2 separate regions of the Homo sapiens genome follow, and region 2 is linked to region 1. Evidence: promoter capture Hi-C in 16 types of primary human blood cells and fetal thymus (Javierre and others, 2016). All regions are on one chromosome and are shown on one strand. Each heading gives the region's core, a stretch centred on a gene start or on the middle of the fragment in contact. The rest is flanking DNA. Distances are from core to core; before and after follow the strand shown. Region 1 holds the start of GGCX (gamma-glutamyl carboxylase). Region 2 overlaps ELMOD3 (ELMO domain containing 3).

Region 1 (4,344 bases), core at 649-3,148:
ATCCCAGCTACTCGGGAAGCTGAAGCAGGAGAATCACTTGAACCTGGGAGGCGGAGGTTGCAGTGAGCCGAGATCACACCATTGCACTCCAGCCTGGGCAACAAGATCGAAACTCCGTCTCAAAAAAAGAAAGAAAGAAAGAAAGAAAGTGCTCTGGGAGTGCTTCTCAACCTTTTCTGCTTCCTGGCACACTCCAAAAACAGTTGCATTTCGTCAACACCCTGGGAATAAACAGAAGAGGCTACTCAGATCAGGAAGCCAGCTTGAGATAAAGCAGGGTTTCTCAACTTCAGGACTAGTCACATTTTGGGCTGGTTAATTATTTATTGAGGGGATTATCCAATGCACTACAGGACATTTAGGAGCACTCCCTGACCTCTATAGAGATGCCAGCAGCCACCTATTCTTCCTCCCCCAAGTTGTGACAACTAAAAATGTCTCTAAACATTGCCAAATGTCTCCCAGGGAGCAAAACTCCCTCCAGTTGAGAACTACTGGGCTAAGGGGACTAATATCTCTGCACATCTGTAAACCATTCCAAGCACACCATGCTGCGGCCTCAGTTAAGAAGCTCTTGATTAGGGAGTCACAGCCAAAAGGTATGGTCCCTGTGGCCCCCTGCTCTGTTTCTCTGAGTCTTCTGGGCAACTTCATGCCACAAGCAAAATGGGTCACTGCTGCCTCGCCTCTACATATCATATAGCATTTCTAGCTGGGTACGGTGGCTCACACCTGTAATCCCAGCACTTTGGGAGGCCGAGGCAGGCGGATCACCTGAGGTCAGGAGTTTGAGACCAGCCTGGCCAACATGGTGAAACCCCGTCTCTACTAAAAACACACATACAAAAAAAATAAAAAATTAGCCGGGTGTGGTGGTGGGCGCCTGTAATCCCAGCTACTCGGGAGACTGAGGGAGGAGAATCGCTTTAACCCGGGTGGCGGAGGTTACAGTGAGCCGAGATAGCGCCATTGCACTCCAGCTTGGGCAACAAGAGCGAAAGTCCGTCTAAGGAAAAAAAAAAAAGCATTTCTGGCCACCAAGTAAATCCTAACTGTAGGAGACAAAGCAGGTTTAATCCTAAACTTCGCAAAGACCTCTTCTTTTATACCAATGTCTTCAGCTCTGAGGAAAAGGGAGCTAAGTCTACTTGCAACCAAAAAATAGAGATTGTCATTCTCCACTCTCAACCAAATTGCTCCCACCCATAAACTGGACTCACCAAAAAGAAAACGAAAGACAGCTAAGCTTGCAGGGTCCGTTGGTCGATTCAGCAGGGTCACCAGCCTCCGCCAACTGGACAAATCTGTCCACTCAAAACCCAAGAGTTTCCCTATTCGGCTGTCCTGCCTGGGCCCTGAGATCAGTTCAGCCTTGTCTTTCTGTACTTTATCTGCAATCAATAAATGGAGAAAATATGTGTGCGGGGGTGGGCTCCACCTCAAATCAAAGAAATCACTGCACCAACAGCTCAGAGCTTCCGCCCACCCGGGTCGGCTCAATGAGGTTGCCTCAATGATCTGACTATAGGAAACATCCCTGCAGTGCAGCCCCCTCTCCACGATCCCCTAATGTCCCAGAACCCCTCAGACTACAGTCCCCTAACCGCAGTGTTCCCGAATGTCATCATCATTCAGAAGCCGCAGGCTGCAAATGTCTCACAGCACGCCCCCTTCCCCACAGAGGACCCCCCCCCCGCCTCACCGGGAGACACTGGGCGTCCTCCCGCCCCCGCCCCTCTGAGACCAGCGCTCCTAGGAACTCTCCGCCGGAGGGCGGGGTCCTAAGCCTACCTGAGCTGGGCGAGGTCCGCGCGGACCCGGCAGACACCGCCATTGCTCTGCGGAGGAGGCAGGTGGGTCACAGCTGCCGCGTCTGAACGGAGGCCGCCAGGAGAATTTGCTTCCCTAGGCTCCGCCTCCCGACGCGTCAGCGGCTGTGCGGCCGGCCGCAAAGCGCCAGCACTGTCGTAAATACTACCCACGACCGGCGGCGCCGGATTCCTTGCTTGGCGGCAGGGGGCGGAACAAGGAGCCTTGGAGCGGGGCAAAGGTACCCCTTAGTGCCGTTGATCTCCAGGGGCATTGTTAGACTCGCCTGTTATGCCTTCCGAGGGGGCCTCTGCTTTTTAAACACTGAAAAGAGTCTGAGTTCCCCAACTTCCTTGGGTCCTCCCCGACCCCATTAGTCCTCTCCGTCCCTGCGTCCCTGCGGTGCTCTCTGGTGTGAGGGATCGGGCGCAAAGGGCAAACTTTTTGTCAGAGTGACGCCGAGTTGAGGACGCGCCTGGAAATGTTGCCTGGGTTTTGAGCCATTGCACGACCCCTTCACTTTCTTTTCCAGGACCTGCAAAGAACCGAGGTTTCAAAGCAGTAGGGGCCGGGCACTGCTCTCGCTTGTAATCCCAACAGTTTGGAAGGCCAATGCGGGAGGATCGATAAAGAAAAAAAAAAAAGGCAACAACAAAAAAAGAAAAAACACTAAAAAAAAAGTTAGCTGTGTGTCGTGGCGCGCTCCTGTGGTTTCAGCTACTCGGGAGGCTGAGGTGGGAGGTTCGCTTGAGCCCAGTAGTTCGAGGCTGCAGGGAGCTGTGATCGCACCACTGCACTCCAGCCTGGGGGACACAGTGAGACCCCGTCTCAAAAAAAAAAAAAAAAAAAAACAAGCCGGGTGCGGCAGCAAGCCTGTAATCCCAGCACTTTGAGAGGCCAAGGCGGGCGGATCACTTGAAGTCAGGAGTTAAAGACCAGCCTGGCCAACATGGTGAAACCCCGTCTGTACTAAAAATACAAAAATAATCCGGGCATGGTGGCGTGCGCCTGTAATCCCAGCTACTCGGGAGGCTGAGGCAGGAGAATCGCTTGAACCTAGGAGGCGGAGGTTGCAGTGAGCCAAGATCGCGCTACTGCACTCCAGCCTGGGCGACAGAGTGAGACTCCGTCTCAAAAAACAAAAAACGAAAAAGAAAGAGAAAGAAAAGAAAAGGCGGGAAGAAAAGAAAGAAAGAAAATTAAAAGCAGCCAGGGAAACAGGAACAACATAACTGAAGAGGGGATACAGAGCAAGGGCAGTGAGTAGAGTGTGGCCCATCAGGGAAGGTTCTCAGAGGTGAGTCTGGAGCAGAATTAAATACCTAAATCTCTCCACTGGGATTAGCCAGCAGGAAAAGAAGAAGGCATCCCAGAGAAGCGGTTCTCAAACAGTTGGGTCTTGGGAACCATTTACAGTGTTAGAAATTATAGAAGACCCTAAAAGCTTTGTTTATGTGGATTATATCTTTCAATATTTGCCGTATTAGAAATTTTTTTGGCCGGGCGCGGTGGCTCACGCCTGTAATCCCAGCACTTTGGGAGGACGAGGCGAGTGGATCACGAGGTCAGGAGATCGAGACCATCCTGGCTAACACGGTGAAACCCCGTCTCTACTAAAAATACAAAAAATTATCCGGGCGTGGTGGCAGGCGCCTGCAGTCCCAGCTACTCGAGAGGCTGAGGCAGGAGAATGGCGTGAACCCAGGAGGTAGAGCTTGCAGTGAGCCGAGATCGCACCACTGCCCTCCAGCCTGGGCGACAGAGCAAGACGCCGTCCTGAAAAAAAAAATTTTTTTTTTTGAGGCCAGGCGCGGTGGCTCACGCCTGTAATTCCAGCACTTTGGGAGGCCGAGGCGGTTGGATCACTTAAGGTCAGCAATTTGAAATCAGCCTCGCCAACATGGTAAAACCCCGTCTCTACTAAAAATACAAAAAAAATGAGCCGGGTGTGGTGGCAGGCGTCTATAATCCCAGCTACTCAGAAGGCTGAGACAGGAGAATCACTTGTACCCGGGAGGTGGAGGTTGCAGTGATCCAAGATCGAACCACTGCACTCCAGCCTGGGTGACAGAGTAAGACTCTGTCTCAAAAAAAAAAAAAAAAAAAAAAGGCCGGGCACGGTGGCTCACACCTGTAATCCCAGCACTTTGGGAGGCTGAGGCAGGTGGATCACAAAGTCAGGAGTTCGAGACCAGCTTGACCAATACGGTGAAACCCCGTCTTTACTAAAAATACAAAAATTAGCCGGGTGTGGTGGCACGTGCCTGTAATCCCACCTACTGGGGAGGCTGAGGCAGGAGAATCGGTTGAACCCGGGAGGCAGAGGTTGCAGTGATCCCAGATTGCGCCACTGTACTCCAGCCAGGGTGAAAGAGCAAGACTCCATCTCAAAAAAAAAAAAAAGCTTTCTAACTTCTACTACAAAGGAAAAAAAATGGCATGTTTCTGTAGTCTCAGCTATTCCCAGCTTTTCTGGAGGCTGAAGCAAGACAATCACTTTAGTTCAGGAGTTTAAGACTAGCCGGGGCAACATAA
Region 2 (3,727 bases), core at 1,016-3,515, 180 kb before region 1:
ATGGAGGGATTGCTACATTTTGCTACTTGAGAAAACCATAAAACCCAACCCCAGAGGGCAGGTCCAGACAGAGATAGAGAAGCTACTGGTCTCAGGCTGGTCTTGAACTCCTTACCTCAGGTGATCCACCCGCCTTGGCCTCCCAAAGTGTTGGGATTATAGGTGTGAGCCACCACGCCCAGCCAAAGATCTTGAACAAATTTGGGGAGATCAGGGATTCTCTGGAGGGTGTACTCCCAGACCTCAGCAAATTGTTCTGTTGTTTTGAGCCATAAAGTTAGCTCATGCTGGTACCAAGCATGGATAGGAGATTTGTCAAAGGCCAGGGGTACCTCCACTCAGAATCCCTCTGTGGTTACCAAAATGTGAACCCTGAAAATCTGAGACAGGTCTCAGTTAATTTAGAAAGTTTGTTTTTCCAAGGTTGGGAATGCGCACCTGTGACACAGCCTCAGGAGGTGCTGATGACATGTGCCTAAGTTCATCAGAGCACAGCTTGGTTTTACAGTTTTAGGGAGATATGAGACATCAATTAACACATGTAAGATGAGCATTGGTTCCTCCGGAAAGGTGGGAGGACTGGAAGCAAAAGCGGGATGACTGAAAGCAGGGAGGGGGTTTCCAGGTCATAGGTAGATAAGGGACAAATGGTTGTGTTCTTTGAGCATCTGATTAGCCTTTCCAAAGGAGGCAATCAGATATGCGTTTATCTCAGTGAGCAGAGGGGTAACTTTGAATAGAGTGGGAGGCAGGTTTGCCCTAAGCAGTTTCCAGCTTGACATTTCCCTTTAGCTTAGTGATTTGGGGAACCCAAGATATTTTGTTTTCACAATAGAAACTTCAGCTGGCTCATTGGGAAAATTAGAGACAATGTACAAAAGTAGCAAGCACAGCTGTGCTGTTGCTGTTTCAACTCTCTGCCCTCCCTGAGGAAATGCCTTGCACAGGGGTAGCATCTCTTGGCCCTGAAAGAGAAGAGTTAGCCTCCACGGGCCCAAGAGGAGGAGATGGACCTCCATGGGTTATGTGAGCCACAGACTTACCAACAGGCCAGAGGTGCTTCAGTAGCTCCTCTGTCTCTGTCTGGACCTGCCCTCTGGGGTTGGGTTTTATGGTTTTCTCAAGTAGCAAAAGGTAGCAATCCCTCCATTTTATTTTTATTTTTTAAAACAGTCTCACCCTGTCACCCAGGCTGGAATGCAGTGGCACAATCACAACTCACTGCAACCTCTACCTCCCAGGCTCAAGCAATCCTCCCACCTCAGCCTCGGCTGGGACTACAGGTGTGCCGTACCATGCCCAGCTAATTTTATTTTTTTAATAGTCTCTCCATTTTAGAAAACAAATTTGACCTGTTTCCTGCCATCTGTCTATCCCATATTCATGGGACCTAGGATTCATTCATTCACTGAATGAATATTTTTTCAGCATCCCTTGGTGCTATTCTTCTTGGTACTTGGGATACATCAGTAAATAAAACAAAGATTCTTCCAGCAGAGATGACCATAAGCTCAATATATCAATACATTATAGAGTGCTCTAGAAGGTAATAAGTACTAAGGAAAAATAAATAGGATAGAGTTGAGAGAATGTGGAGAGACAGTTACAGTATTTTTATAGGGTGGTCAGGGTAGCTGTCATGAGAGAGTGAGACTTAAACCAAACCTTGGAGGTGGGAATGTTAGCCAAGCTGATATCTGGGAGAAGAACATACCAGGCAGAGGGATTAGCTAGAACTAAGGTCTCAAGAAAGGAGTGTGTCTAGCATAGGTAATGAGTAGTAGGGAAGCCACCGGAGTGAAAAGAACACAGGAAGTTTCACTCATGTCTGTATGAAGAGACCACCAAACAGGCTTTGTGTGAGCAACAAGGCTGTTTATTTCACCTGGGTGCAGGCGGGCTGAGTCCGAAAAGAGTCAGCGAAGGGAGATAGGGGTGGGGCCATTTTATAGGATTTGGTTAGGTAGTGGAAAATTACAGTCAAAGGGGGTTGTTCTCTGGCTGGCAGGGGTGGGGGTCACAGTGCTCAGTTGGGGAGCTTTTGAGCCAGGATGAGCCAGGAGAAGGAATTTTACAAGGTAATGTCATCAGCTAAGGCAGGAACAGGCCATTTTCACTTCTTTTGTCATTCTTCAGTTACTTCAGGCCATCTGGATTTATACGTACAGGTTTGGGCCCAGAGGCCTGACAGGAAGGGCAGTAGGAGAGGTGGTCGTAGATGATGGGCCAGAGGGCGCAGGGCCTAGCAGGCCATGGAAAGGACTCTAGGTTTTACGCTAGGTAAAATGAGGAGGCACTGCAGGGCTTTGAGCAGCAGAGTAACACAGTCTAACTTACTTTTTTTTTTTAATGGATCCTACCAGCTGCTAAGTTAAGAATAATTTCCAGTGAGGGCTTTTGTAGTAAATTAGAGATGATGCTGGTTTGTCAATCTCCCCTTCCAGCAGAGGAATGTGTGGGTAAGAGAGTCACAATGTTTCTGAACAAAGCCATAGCTCCTAAGTGGTGAAGCTGGGCCTAGAGCCCCTGTTTCCTGACAGCTGGCCTGGCGGTGGGCTCTGTACAGCATTGATTCCCAGCCAGCAGCACACCCTGAAAAGTCACATAGCAGTGGGAGTGCAGATGCTTAGACTCTCCCCATCAGAACCACTCAGTTGGAATCTTCAGGGTTGGGGCCAGGTCAGCAGCAGCCGCAGAAGATACTCTGGTCTTCCTGCTTCAGCAGACAAAGGTTTCTAAGCCCAAACGTGAGGCATGAGGATAAATGAAATTGTAAATGGAAGCAGAAAAATGTCCAGGTCTGAGTTCCTCTGCTGTGTTTTAGTCAGTTTCAGTGCAGTATTTTAGCTCTAAACAATGCTTTTTAGGTCTGAGGGAACTGCTGAAGGAAAGGAGACATTTAGATCTGAAATCCAATTTTTACCATTTTTTGATACGTAGGCTTTTTTTTTTTTTTTTTTTTTTTGAGATGGAGTCTCGCTCTGTTGCCAGGCTAGAATGCATGGCACAATCTCAACTCACTGCAACCTCTGCCTCCTGAGTTCAAGCGATTCTTCTGCCTGAGCCTCCCAAGTAGCTGGGATTACAAGTGCCCACCAGTACACCTAGCTAATTTTTGCGTTTTTAGGAGAGACAGCGTTTCACCATGTTGGTCAGGCTAGTCTTGAACTCCTGACCTCAAGTGATGTGCCCACCTCGGCCTCCAAAAATGCTGGGATTACAGGAGTGAGCCACCATGCCTGGCCAATCAGTGGGCTTTTTAAGAATGTTCCCGGGCTGGGTGTGGTGGCTCACGCCTGTAATCCCAGCACTTTGGAAGGCCGAGACAAGCAGATCACCTGAGGTCGGGAGGTCGAGACCAGCCTGATCAACAGATCAACATGGAGAAACCTTGTCTCTACTAAAAATACAAAATTAGCCAGGCATGGTGGTGCATGCCTGTAATCCCAGCTACTCGGGAGGCTAAGGCAGGAGAATCGCTTGAACCTGGGAGGCAGAGGTTGTGGGAGCCGAGATCGTGCCATTGCACTCCAGCCTGAGCAACAAGAGCGAAACTCCGTCTCAAAAAAAGAATGTTCCTGAGAATGGATGAACACTAAGTTCAGGTCCTCTGTTAATAATGTTGTTACCATACTGTTTTTCTCATATTTATTTTTAGATTGAAAGAAATCAAGGGAAGGGATGATATTATGCAAGTATATATGATCATTAAATAGGCAATACCTGA

What was found. Contacts are between HindIII fragments. The CHiCAGO score rates a contact against its expected background, and 5 or more counts as called.
Region 2: a fragment that was not itself captured here is called in contact with the fragment with the promoter of GGCX in region 1 in 2 of 17 cell types (total B cells and erythroblasts); the score reaches 6.5 in total B cells.

What each region holds. Positions count from the first base shown.
Region 1 is chr2:85,559,595-85,563,938 of GRCh38, forward strand. GGCX (gamma-glutamyl carboxylase) reads right to left here and starts at 1,899. Exons shown (of 15, transcript NM_000821.7): 1 at 1,792-1,899; 2 at 1,221-1,391. The coding sequence starts at 1,834. RefSeq lists an enhancer at 1,873-2,102. The HindIII fragment of the contact is 2,007 bases long and covers 1,245-3,251 here.
Region 2 is chr2:85,383,440-85,387,166 of GRCh38, forward strand. All of the region lies in intron 11 of ELMOD3 (ELMO domain containing 3), which reads left to right. Among named protein-coding and RNA genes, the nearest start is that of CAPG, 25 kb to the right of the region's middle. The HindIII fragment of the contact is 6,667 bases long and covers 1-3,727 here.